Linked DNA regions of Homo sapiens: all the other regions are linked to region 1. Evidence: promoter capture Hi-C in 16 types of primary human blood cells and fetal thymus (Javierre and others, 2016). All regions are on one chromosome and are shown on one strand. The core of a region is centred on a gene start or on the middle of the fragment in contact, and the rest is flanking DNA. Distances in the headings are between cores, read along the strand shown. Region 1 holds the start of SH3PXD2A (SH3 and PX domains 2A). Region 2 overlaps SH3PXD2A (SH3 and PX domains 2A). Region 3 overlaps COL17A1 (collagen type XVII alpha 1 chain). Region 4 overlaps SH3PXD2A (SH3 and PX domains 2A).

Region 1 (3,003 bases), core at 143-2,642:
CTCTGGCCTGGTGCCAAGATCTCTCACAGTCTGAGCCCCCTAGGCCCATCCATCTTTTTTTTTCTTTGTCCCGTGCCATCGTTTGGTGTCCTAGCGCCCTTCCCCAGGAAGGTTGGAGGAATAGTGGGTTACTCTGTATGGAGCAAATATGTGAATAAATAAAGCCTTAGATCTGTGCCTGGGTTCTGACAGTCTAGAGAACGCGCAGAAGAAAGTATTAATGCAATTAGGTCACAAAATTATTTGTCCTCTTTTCAGATGTTTCACATTGGTCCACAGTCACAAAGCTTTATTGTGATTGTGTAACAACTGGAGTAGTTGTGAAAACACTACCCTTTAAATGTTTGAAAGCAGAATGGGAAAAAAATGTTGAACTAGAAGGGGGGAAGCTACATTGAATTAAGTAGTAACTGTGCTCCAAGTCCAGGGACCACGGACAAGTGGCTTGGAAAGTGGGTTTTCCAGACTAGAGGGAGGGGTGAGAATGCCAGAGCCTGGGGCTCACGGTGAGCTGGCCTCCAACCGGGTGGGTTTTCCCACCATTGTATGCTCCTTTCCCTGTCGCCAGCTTGGGGAGGGTCCCCAGGGGAGCCCTGGGCTTAAGGCAGTGGTGTTATGCAGAGTCTGTAACGTTGTCATTGGTAAATGATGCACAGGGTAGTTACACAAGCCCAGATCGATGGACGACTCAGGCAACGAATCGATCACTTTTCCGGGGAGAATTCACCCTTTATGACCTGCAGAGGGTCAGGTGGTTCGTCCAAAGAGGCTCTGGCTTGAAGGATTTAAAGCTGGCCTTTTCCCCATTCCCATCTCCTCCTCGGGGGCCTGGGCAGTAACAGCCGGGTAATAAACTACTTCTCATTAAAGAGATCTGGGGGTGGAAGTTGTAGGGGGACATAAAAGTGGGGACAAAAAGGCACAAATCCGCTCCGAGGCGGAAAGCCAGGATGGGGGCGCGCGGGGCTCACTTTCCCCGCTCCCTCTCCCCCCGAAGCCACCCTGAGTTTTTGTGCCTAGCGAACTAGCCCGGTGCTGCGCCAGGCCGCTGGCTGCGCGCTGGGCTCGGGTGGGGGCTCGTCGGCCCGCCCCTGCCACTGGGGCCGGGCTGCAGCCCCCTCCCCGTCGCCCCGAGCCCCTCCCCCGGCCCGGAGCCCCTCCCCGCGCGCTTCCCCTCTCTCCCCTCCCTCCCTTCCCTTCCCTGCCTGCCAGGCCCTGCCTCCGCCTCCTGCGCCCACAGCCTCCGCCAGCGCCGATCCCCCCGGAGCCCGAGCCGGAGAGCGGCGAAGGGGAGCCGCCGGCCCCTCCCCAGGACGCTGACAGCAGGCTCCGGGGCCCCCGCCCCGTCCCCTCGCCGACGGGACACACCCCCGCCCCTCCTCTGCTCCGCCAGTTCCCGCCGGACCCACCGGGCGGCGGAGAGAGCGAGCGGGCGAGCGCAGCGCGGCGGCCGCGCGGGAGTGAAGGGGCGCGCGGCAGGCCGGCGGGGAGTCCCCCGGGGCGCACGGAGCCCGCGCGCCCTCCGGGACCCTCCCCCGTCCCTGGGCCGGACCTGTGGGCGCCGGGAGTCCGGGCAGCGTTCGGCGCGCCGGGCCGGGGTGGCGGGCGGCCCCGGGACCCCGGCAGCTGGAGAAGGAGCCGGAGCCCGGCCGGGATGAGAAGGTGACGCCGCCGGGGGCGCCACTCGCTTTGTGGGGGAAGATGCTCGCCTACTGCGTGCAGGATGCCACCGTGGTGGACGTGGAGAAGCGGAGGAACCCCTCCAAGCACTACGTGAGTACAGCCCCCGCCGACCCTGCTGGGGGTGGCCCGAGGTCCCGGGAGGGCCCCGGATGGCCCCTTGCCCCTCCCAGCTGTGAGGTCGCGAAGCTAAGCGCCCACTGGGCAGCCAGCAGCCGTGGAGTTTCTTCGCAGGGCTGTGATCTCCAGGGAAGCCTCTTCTGTCCTTCCTCCTTCGCACCCCCGCCCCCCCGGTTTCTTTTTTTGGCATTGGAATTGGCAAGTGGCTGCCCTTGTCTGTTACAACGGTGAAGTCATCTGTCCGCCTTTGATGGATGGTGGGGGGAGCTTTCGTCAACCCCTCACAGAGCAGCCCCGTCGGGAAAGCGCATCTCCTCGGCCCTCCCCAGGGGCCCTGGGCGCTCACGCTCACACAGCCCGAGATGCTTTCAGAGCTCGCCCTGGAGAAGGAAGCCTCGCGCCCTGCCTCCCACGCCAGCTCTGTCTCTGCCTTCCTAGGCCTGGGGCTGGGGGCAGAAGGAAGCCGCCGCCCCCTTGCCCAACCTCCACCCTCCGCGCTAAGCTTTGATTTCCCTCATAAAGCCATTGTGTCCGTCGGTGTGAGGAGAATTGTGGCTTTTCCTTTTATCCCTCCTCTGGACGTGACCCTTAACCGGGTTCATTTCCTCTTAAGTGATGCTCCATCTCCAGACACGAGGAGGCGAATGTTTGCTGTGGTCTCCGAGGAACCGCCCCTCCCCCTTCCTCCCCCAAACTTTAATGAGAAGGGGTTAAGGTTGACTGGGGCAGCTCCAGAGCCTATGTGACAGTTCCCCTTTCATCTCAGCCGGTCCTGTCTTCCCATCCCTCACACCTTAGGAAGTAAACACGGTGTCCTTGACCCCTCTGAGCGTCTGTGCTCCTGTACTTGAGATAGAAGAGACCCAAGCACAGAGGACTGCATGTTATTTGCAAATTGGGTATTTAGAGGAGCAGTTCCAGTGCTCAAAGCATTAATCTTAACAGTTAAAACAGGCGCTGGTTGCTGCCCTGGATTGTACATTGATCTCTGAAGTGCCTTTTCTTCCACTGTTGCAAAGGGACTGGGGTTTGTGGCAATGTCAGCCTCGGGCTACTCTTTTTGCCTTTGTCACCAGTGTAGCTCTGAACTTTGAGTTTCTTTACAGCTGAGCAAATGCGGCTGGGCTCATATGGGGAGGAGGTAAATGTGGAGGCAGGTTGACTAGGCAGGGAGGTGGGTGCCTGTCGGGTCCAGTCCCTGAC
Region 2 (2,776 bases), core at 80-2,579, 250 kb after region 1:
ACCTGGGCTTCCCAAAGCACTACGATTACAGGAGATTTCTCTGCTTTTTAATTTTCATTTTGAGATTCAGCTATTGAGGCATCTGAAAACTAGACCTCCAGAGATGTAAGATTAGAAATTACTGCATTAATAATGAGCATTTTGTGCTGGGCACAGTGGCTTATGCCTGTAATTCCAGCACTTTGGGAGGCTGAGGCAGGAGGATTGCTTGAGCCCAGGAGTTTGAGACCAGGCAAAACCCTGTCTCTAGTTTTTTTCTCTTTTTTTTTTTTTTTTAAAGAATAGAATAATTTAATTAAAATGTGCAATATTTTGATGAAGAAAAATCACAAAAATGAATTGAAGGCCTGGCAGAATGGAAATAAGGTACATTTATGGATGAGAAGACTCGGTATTATTCAATTTTATCCCTAATCTGTAAATTCGATGAAATTCTAATTTAAATCCCAACACAATTTTTCTTTTTTTTTTTTTTTTTTTTCTTGACATGGAATGGTGTCTTTATTTTTGGGGGCTGCTGTAACAAAGTACCACACACTGGGTGGCTTAACAGCAGAAACGTGTTGTCTCCCAGTTCTAGGGGCGAGGAGATCAGGGTGCCGACAGGGCCTCGTTCCCTGGGAAGGCGTGGGAGGAGGACCTGTTCCCCGCCTCTCTCCCGGCTTCCGGGACTCCGGAAGCCTGACTCCAGGCTTCACGTGGTGTTCTCCCTGCTGGTGGGTCTGCCTCTGTCCTGTGTTCTTTTTTTTTTTTTTTTTTTTAAATTGATCATTCTTGGGTGTTTCTCGCAGAGGGGGATTTGGCAGGGTCATAGGACAATAGTGGAGGGAAGGTCAGCAGACAAACAAGTGAACAAAGGTCTCTGGTTTTTCTAGGCAGAGGACCCCGAGGCCTTCCGCAGTGTTTGTGTCCCTGGGTACTTGAGATTAGGGAGTGGTGATGACTCTTAACGAGCATGCTGCCTTCAAGCATCTGTTTAACAAAGCACATCTTGCACCGACCTCAATCCATTTAACCCTGAGTGGACACAGCACATGTTTCAGAGAGCACAGGGTTGGGGGTAAGGTCACAGATCAACAGGATCCCAAGGCAGAAGAATTTTTCTTAGTACAGAACAAAATGAAAAGTCTCCCATGTCTACTTCTTTCTACACAGACGCGGCAACCATCCGATTTCTCAATCTTTTCCCCACCTTTCCCCCCTTTCTATTCCACAAAACCGCCATTGTCATCATGGCCCGTTCTCAATGAGCTGTTGGGTACACCTCCCAGACGGGGTGGTGGCCGGGCAGAGGGGCTCCTCACTGCCCAGTAGGGGCGGCCGGGCAGAGGCGCCCCTCACCTCCCGGACGGGGCGGCTGGCCGGGCAGGGGGCTGACCCCCCCACCTCCCTCCCGGACGGGGCGGCTGGCCGGGCAGAGGGGCTCCTCACCTCCCAGTAGGGGCGGCTGGGCAGAGGCGCCCCTCACCTCCCGGACAGGGCGGCTGGCCTGGCGGGGGCTGACCCCCACCTCCCTCCCGGACGGGGTGGCTGCTGGGCGGAGACGCTCCTCACTTCCCAGACGGGGCAGCTGCCGGTCGGAGGGGCTCCTCACTTCTCAGACGGGGCGGCTGCCGGGCGGAGGGGCTCCTCACTTCTCAGACGGGGCGGTTGCCAGGCGGAGAGTCTCCTCACTTCCCAGACGGGGCGGCTGGGCAGAGAGGCTCCTCACCTCCCAGACGGGGTCGCGGCCGGGGAGAGGCGCTCCTCACATCCCAGACGGGGCGGCAGGGCAGAGGCACTCCCCACATCTCAGACGATGGGCGGCTGGGCAGAGACGCTCCTCACTTCCTAGATGGGATGGCGGCCGGGAAGAGGCGCTCCTCACTTCCTAGATGGGATGGCGGCCGGGCAGAGACGCTCCTCACTTTCCAGACTGAGCAGCCAGGCAGAGGGGCTCCTCACATCCCAGACGATGGGCGGCCAGGCAGAGACGCTCCTCACTTCCCAGACGGGGTGGCGGCCGGGCAGAGGCTGCACTCTCCGCACTTTGGGAGGCCAAGGCAGGCGGCTGGGAGGTGGAGGTTGTAGGGAGCCGAGATCACGCCGCTGCACTCCAGCCTGGGCACCATTGAGCACTGAGTGAACGAGACTCCGTCTGCAATCCCGGCACCTCGGGAGGCCGAGGCTGGCGGATCACTCGCGGTTAGGAGCTGGAGACCAGCCCGGCCAACACAGCGAAACCCCGTCTCCACCAAAAAAACACGAAAACCAGTCAGGCATGGCGGCGCGCGCCTGCAATCGCAGGCACTCGGCAGGCTGAGGCAGGAGAATCAGGCAGGGAGGTTGCAGTGAGCAGAGATGGCAGCAGTACAGTCCAGCTTCGGCTCGGCATCCGAGGGAGACCGTGGAAAGAGAGGGAGAGGGAGACCGTGGGGAGAGGGAGAGGGAAGGGGAGGGGGAGGGGGAGAGCTTTTTTTTTTTTTTTTTTTTTTTTTTTAGCAAATTCTTCCAGATCCTGAGAGAGCCCATCTCTACCAAAAAAAAAAAAAAAAATTAACCAGGTGTGGTGGTGTGTGCCTGTAGTCCCAGCTACTGGGGAGGCTGAAGTGGGAGGATCACTTGAGCCCAGGAGATGGAGGCTGCAGTGAGCTCTGATTACTCCACTGCACTCTAGCCTGGGTCCCAAAGCAAGACCCTATCTCAGAGTAATGATGATGATGATGATGATGATGATGATGATGATGATGATGATAGTAATAGTAATGTGAGAATTTTGATAGCTCAGACAAGTCTT
Region 3 (3,037 bases), core at 277-2,776, 210 kb before region 1:
TCAGACCCTGTGCAAACTACTGCTTTTAACTTGGATGGACCTAACTACGTAATAAGTAGAACTGTTAGTAATATTTGGCCTGGGGTAGGTAGGTGGGGGTATTAACAAATTTACTACGTTACAAAGAGTGTGGGAACCGAGGAAGTTTGGGAATCTGTTGGCAAAACCATTGATCATGAAAGTGGTTTGGGACTCTGGGGGCCGTCCTAAGCCAGGGGGCATCCCCCGTGCTCCCTGTACTCACCTGACCTTGGTTGCTTTCACAGTGTTTGGCATGCAGAACAATCTGGCCCCCAGCTTGACCACCCTGTCCCATGGCACCACCACCACTTCCACAGGTCAGTAGGCTAGGGTTGGAGCTTAGGCGCTGGAAAGTGACACCTCTTTGCAGCTACAACTCACTGAATTAGGAGACCCAAAATGTCCCTGAAAATCAGTCGACCTTTCCCACCAAAGACACAACACTCAAGATATCAATCTTGATCATTAACTGGCTCAGACATGAGTCAAGCACACAGGGAAGGCTGTCCTGTCAACAGCATCACCTTGTAAGGCATCACTTGTATGTTCCTGTGTCTCTCACAGCCAAACTGGTTAGGTTGGTGGTCTTGCCAGCTCACTGCTGTCCTTGACAGCCCACTGTCACTGCAAATCAATCATCTGGTTGATTTTATGGTGCACCCCCTACAGGTTGCCACCGCTGTGCCAACCTGGGGGTGACTGGGGACATGAAACCTAGGTCAGCCTTTGCCTCCAACTTGCCTGCTACTTAATTGGAAGAGAAAGTCTAACACACATGAGACAACGAGAGGCTCTATAAGACAATGGGAATAAGTGATAGGCCATGCAGAGCAGGTGTTAAGGGCTGTAGGAGTTCAGGAGAGAAGGAGATGCATGGGGGTCTAGGAGGACTTCCTGGAAGTAGCTAGAAGGATGAGGAGGATTATACCTAAGAACGTTCCATCTAAACCCTCATTACTGTCCCCATGGCTGGAGAGAGTTGATTCATCATCTGCTTCTCACTGGAGAGGGTCGGGGGTACCTCTCTGCCAGGGCTGATCAGGCTTCTCCTGAGTCACCTGGAACCACCCTCCCATGCTGACCCAGCTTCCTTTCTTGCAGCATATGGGGTGAAGAAAAACATGCCCCAGAGTCCTGCGGCTGTGAACACTGGCGTTTCCACCTCCGCCGGTGAGTGCTGCTCCCAGCTGCCAGGGTTCAGGCTGGTGCACAGGGAGGATTACTCTGCAGTAATCCTGCCTGTGTATCCTTCCAATACACATGGTATACTGGAAGAGGAAATAGGACCCATGAGTGGTCTTAGGCCTGCAAACGCAACTTGCCCCAAAGGCCTCTTGGATGTTTCCATGAGTGAATAAAGGTGAACATTCCCATGAATGTTCCTATCAGAAGGGGGCAGGAAGCTCCACCCTCCATACCTGCCTAGGGCCAGGCACTTGCACATTAGCCACTGCCCTTGACTGGAAGCCTTTGGCCTTCACCTGTTACATGCAGCTCATGGAGCCCTCAGAAACTGCTGGCACCCTCCCTGCTTTCTACAAAATCTATATCAACTTTGTCCACATATTTCAGCACCATACAGTGAGCTGTTTCCTCCATTGTTCTAATCCTAGTGTGTTGTCTTCCATTCAACAATTCATTTATTGGAAAGCCTTTACTGAGCACCTTCTTTGTATTAGATGGACAGTGTTCTAAGTGCTGACAGTACAGCAGTGAACACGACAGGATAGATTCCTGCCTTCACTAAGCTGATGTCAGTGGTGGAGGCAGACGACAAACACATAAAGTATGCAAGATAATTACAGAAAAGGATACAGATTATAAGGAAAGCAATAAGTAATGTGGTAGAGATAGGAGTGTGTGTATGAGGGTGAAGTGCTTTAGATGGGGTAGTCAGCTAAAGCCTCCTCAAGAAGGCAACTCTTAAGACCTGGAGGATAAAAATGAACCCAAGTTAGTTAAGGAAGGACTTACCTGACTGGGGGACTTTTACCCATTCAATAAAGATCCTATAATCTCCAGGAGGGGAGGCAGCCCCCATAAACCAGCCATCCAGAGCTTCTGACATTGACCCAAACTCTTGGTGGCCAGGCCCAGCCAGGCATAGAGGGTGTCCTTGGTCCCCAAGATGCTTCATAGTAACCACTGTCAGCAAGAACAAGAGACCCTCATACACACCTGCTAATTTACCTCCCTCCTCCTTCTCTTTCTTCTCCTTCCTCTTCTTGTCTTTTCTCCCCTCTCCCTTCTCCTGGCACATGTCCTTCCTTCTTACCCATTTTCTTTCTCCCCAGCCTGCACCACAAGTGTGCAGAGCGATGACCTTTTGCACAAGGACTGCAAGTTCCTGATCCTAGAGAAAGACAACACACCTGCCAAGAAGGAGATGGAGCTGCTCATCATGACCAAGGACAGCGGGAAGGTCTTTACAGCCTCCCCTGCCAGCATCGCTGCAAGTGCGTCAGATCCTGTGTGGCTTGGGTTTCAGAAGAAAGCCAAATAGTGTAGGAGACCAAATGTCCTAGCAAGGTGGTTTGGGACCCTATGAGTCATGAAACCATAGCCATCCCATTCTAATGAAAAGCACCTGTCTGAATAGTATGTTCCAGGGTCTGCCTTGAATGCAGATGAGCTGAGAAAATTCAGGCAAAGAGCTCTCAGAGAGGCATTTGGGCGACAGCAAGTCTAACCGCAAACACAGATCAGGGGAGATGAACCCCAGGAAAGAGGGGCTCTTCTTACCAGTCTAACCTAGACCTTCCCAAGCAGGGTAGTGGGCAAGGGCGGGGGGAACACAGGACAGAGTTGAGAGGTTGAGAAGAGAATATGCCAGGTTATAATGGGTTCTGTACATAGCTTCTTTTTCAGAAGACACCCTAAAAAAAGAAAAGCAAGCTGCCTACAATGCTGACTCAGGCCTAAAAGCCGAAGCTAATGGTAAGAACAAATATGATTGTTGTCCACCTTGACTTCAGCCAGGCCACATTTCATTTCATTGTCTTCGGAGACCTTGCTA
Region 4 (2,764 bases), core at 136-2,635, 210 kb after region 1:
ACCATCCAGTTTAGGCAGTAAGTTCTACTGGGGATAGTTAGGAGTCCGTCGGGTTTCTGAAATGGCTTAGAATAGTAACCCCTCTGCCCCCACCAGCCTATAGCCTGGAGACTTTTTTTTTTTTTTTTTTTGAGACTTGGTCTCACTCTGTCGCCCAGGCTAGAGTACAGTGGCATGATCACGGCTCATTGCAGCTATGACCTCCTGGGCTCAAGTGATCCTCCCACCTCAGCCCCCGAGTAGCTGGGACCACAGGTGCGTACCACTATGCCCCGCTAAATTTTTTAAACTACATTTTTAGTAGAGACAAGGTTTCACCATGTTTTCCAGGCTGGTCTTGAACACCTGGACTCAAACGATCTGCCCACCTCGGCCTCCCAAAGTGCTGGGATTACAGGTGTGAGCCACCGCACCTGGCCTATCCTTTTCAAAGCATTTTTCTCATCTATTATCTCAGAGTAACTCTCTAAGGGTAAGTAGGGCAGGTGGCTTTGTTTCCATTTTTCAAAGGAAACAGTTGAGACCTCAGAGCTTGCTTGTGGCCAGGCTTGGATTTGAACCAAGGTTCGGCAGATTCTTTTTTTTTTTTTTTTTTTTTTTTTGGGATGGAGCCTCGCTCTGTCGCCCAGGCTGGAGTGCAGTGGTGCAATCTCAGCCCACTGCAAGCTCCATGTCCGTGGTTCACACCATTCTCTTACCTCAGCCTCCCCAGTAGCTGGGACTACAGGTGGAGGCCACCACGCCCTGCTAATTTTTTTTTGTATTTTTTAGTAGAGATGGGGTTTCACCCTGTTAGCCAGGATAGTCTCGATCTCCTGACCTCGTGATCCGCCCGCCTCGGCCTCCCAAAGTGCTGGGATTACAGGCGTGAGCCACCGCGCCTGGCCTGGTCTGCAGATTCTTTACCCCAAGCTTCACCTGAAGAAGATCAGTGGTTCCCCGAGAGTGGGTCGTGCAAACATGTGCTGGGCGGACACAGCATTGAGTGGCATTGAATCTCGTCATGAGAAGTTTCTTTCCTTTCAGTTCTCTTTCACTCCACATTGGGTCAAGGGGAGAATCTCCATTTGGGGCTCCTGTGCTGTTAACATCTGTCAGACGCTGGCTGATGTCATTTGTTTGTTTGACCAAGAGCAAATCTGACCCAGGCTTAGAATCTTGCTAGAACTTGCCTTGCTCTCTTGTTGAACTTCATGGCATTGTTTCATTGTATGTGTTTTTCCGGAATCTCCCGTCTATACCTAGGAATGCTGGTTTTCCATCCACTGTAGCATAGGAAAATGTCTTTTTGAAATACATGTTTAAGTTTTAAAAAATAAAGTCAACTTAAATAAACACACTAAGATGACACTAGTGTAGGTGTTACTCAGGTTCATTGGTTCACCTGGCCGGAGGGCTTGGGGAATGCAGAGTTAAACGACCCCAAGTGGGACTCTGTCTCTTAGGCACCTAGGGTGCCCTCTGCCTCTTGTCTCCTAGGGTGACACCAGTGGCTCCCAAATTCCAACTGGGAAAGGAGCCTGGAAAAGCATCGGCATTCGTGGTGGCTGCTCCCCACACCAAGTAGAAGAATCCACGTTGTCAGAGAGCTGCTAACGTCAGGCGGTACTGGATTTTTGCAAGCCCTCTATTTAAAATTCCCCAGAAATTAAATAAGGAGGCTTTGGAGGGAGGAATGCCCTAGACAAATTGTGGAGTGGGTTTGTTTTGTTTATGGAGATGGTCTTTAAAGTCTAAATTGTCCCCGTTTTATTTTTGCCCAATTGAAGAGGGGCTGAACTCAGCTGGGAGGGAGGGGATGGTTGTCAGCCTACAGCTTTTAGTTGAAACCAAGTCCATTCTGGGGCCAAGAAGCTTCCATTTTTAGCAAAGAGAGAAAGGGGAAAAATATACAAACTCGTACATGTACGCATCTTAGGCACTGGAGTAAGCCAGTTAAATGGATAAGGATAATCTTTATATTTCAAGTGACCACAGCTCTCTTCTCCAGGCTGCAAATAGATCTATTAAGCACCAGGCACATTTCTGGGCACTTTCCATTCTTTTCTTTTCTTTTCTTTTTCTCCCCACAACACTGGTAGTAAATACATGCTGTTTCATATTCCCATCTCACCAATGAGAACTTAAGCCTCATTCTTCAGTCTCTTCCTTCAGCCAATCTGAAGGACCAGGCACCACACTAGTCTGACGTTGGCTTCCTAAAGCTGTAGTCCACCCAACACCATGATACAGGGGAGGATCTTAGGTGGCAGAGAGGCAATATCAATCCTTCTGCATCACACAGTGGGAAAAGTTTGTCTCATTGCAGTTCTCTTCCAAGCCTTCTGACTTATCTCAGTTTGATGTTCGATGATCTTTAACCCCTGTCTAGCAAATCTGTGTAGCAAAGAAAGAGCGGGCCACAGGCTCAGCCTCTTCATTTGTGGCACGGTTCAAATGTACTACATAGCTTTGTTTTCATCGTGTGTGCTTTTCTGGTTGGAGCCAGTGGTCCTCGTTGTTTATTCATGGTGGCAATCTGAAGTTTCCTTAGCAAATTTCTTTCTTGAAGTTAAAAAAAAAAAAAAAAGGCAAATTGCTTTAAATATACAGTCCATTTCCAGACTTATGATGGTGTGACTTACAATTTTTCAGCTTTATGATGGGTCATTGGGGGTATTAAGTACATTTTGAACTTGGGATATTGTCAACTTAACGATGGCTTTATCGGAACGTAACCCCACTGTAAGTCAAGGCACATCTGTATATGTTATATGAACCACAG

What was found. Contacts are between HindIII fragments. The CHiCAGO score rates a contact against its expected background, and 5 or more counts as called.
Region 2: a fragment that was not itself captured here is called in contact with the fragment with the promoter of SH3PXD2A in region 1 in 11 of 17 cell types (M0 macrophages, endothelial precursors, megakaryocytes and 8 more); the score reaches 12.7 in M0 macrophages.
Region 3: a fragment that was not itself captured here is called in contact with the fragment with the promoter of SH3PXD2A in region 1 in 1 of 17 cell types (naive CD8 T cells); the score reaches 5.3 in naive CD8 T cells.
Region 4: a contact is called between a fragment that was not itself captured here and the fragment with the promoter of SH3PXD2A in region 1, in 9 of 17 cell types (M0 macrophages, endothelial precursors, activated CD4 T cells and 6 more). The highest score is 6.9, in M0 macrophages.

The regions. Positions count from the first base shown.
Region 1 is chr10:103,853,965-103,856,967 of GRCh38, reverse strand. SH3PXD2A (SH3 and PX domains 2A) reads left to right here and starts at 1,392. Exons shown (of 15, transcript NM_001394015.1): 1 at 1,392-1,773. The coding sequence starts at 1,702. The HindIII fragment of the contact is 2,015 bases long and covers 290-2,304 here.
Region 2 is chr10:103,606,136-103,608,911 of GRCh38, reverse strand. All of the region lies in intron 13 of SH3PXD2A (SH3 and PX domains 2A), which reads left to right. Among named protein-coding and RNA genes, the nearest start is that of NEURL1-AS1, 90 kb to the right of the region's middle. RefSeq lists an enhancer at 691-1,548. The HindIII fragment of the contact is 4,461 bases long and covers 1-2,776 here.
Region 3 is chr10:104,059,559-104,062,595 of GRCh38, reverse strand. COL17A1 (collagen type XVII alpha 1 chain) reads left to right here. Exons shown (of 56, transcript NM_000494.4): 12 at 267-338; 13 at 1,123-1,191; 14 at 2,316-2,477; 15 at 2,878-2,958. Among named protein-coding and RNA genes, the nearest start is that of MIR936, 13 kb to the right of the region's middle. The HindIII fragment of the contact is 3,253 bases long and covers 1-3,037 here.
Region 4 is chr10:103,641,953-103,644,716 of GRCh38, reverse strand. All of the region lies in intron 8 of SH3PXD2A (SH3 and PX domains 2A), which reads left to right. Among named protein-coding and RNA genes, the nearest start is that of SH3PXD2A-AS1, 100 kb to the left of the region's middle. The HindIII fragment of the contact is 942 bases long and covers 915-1,856 here.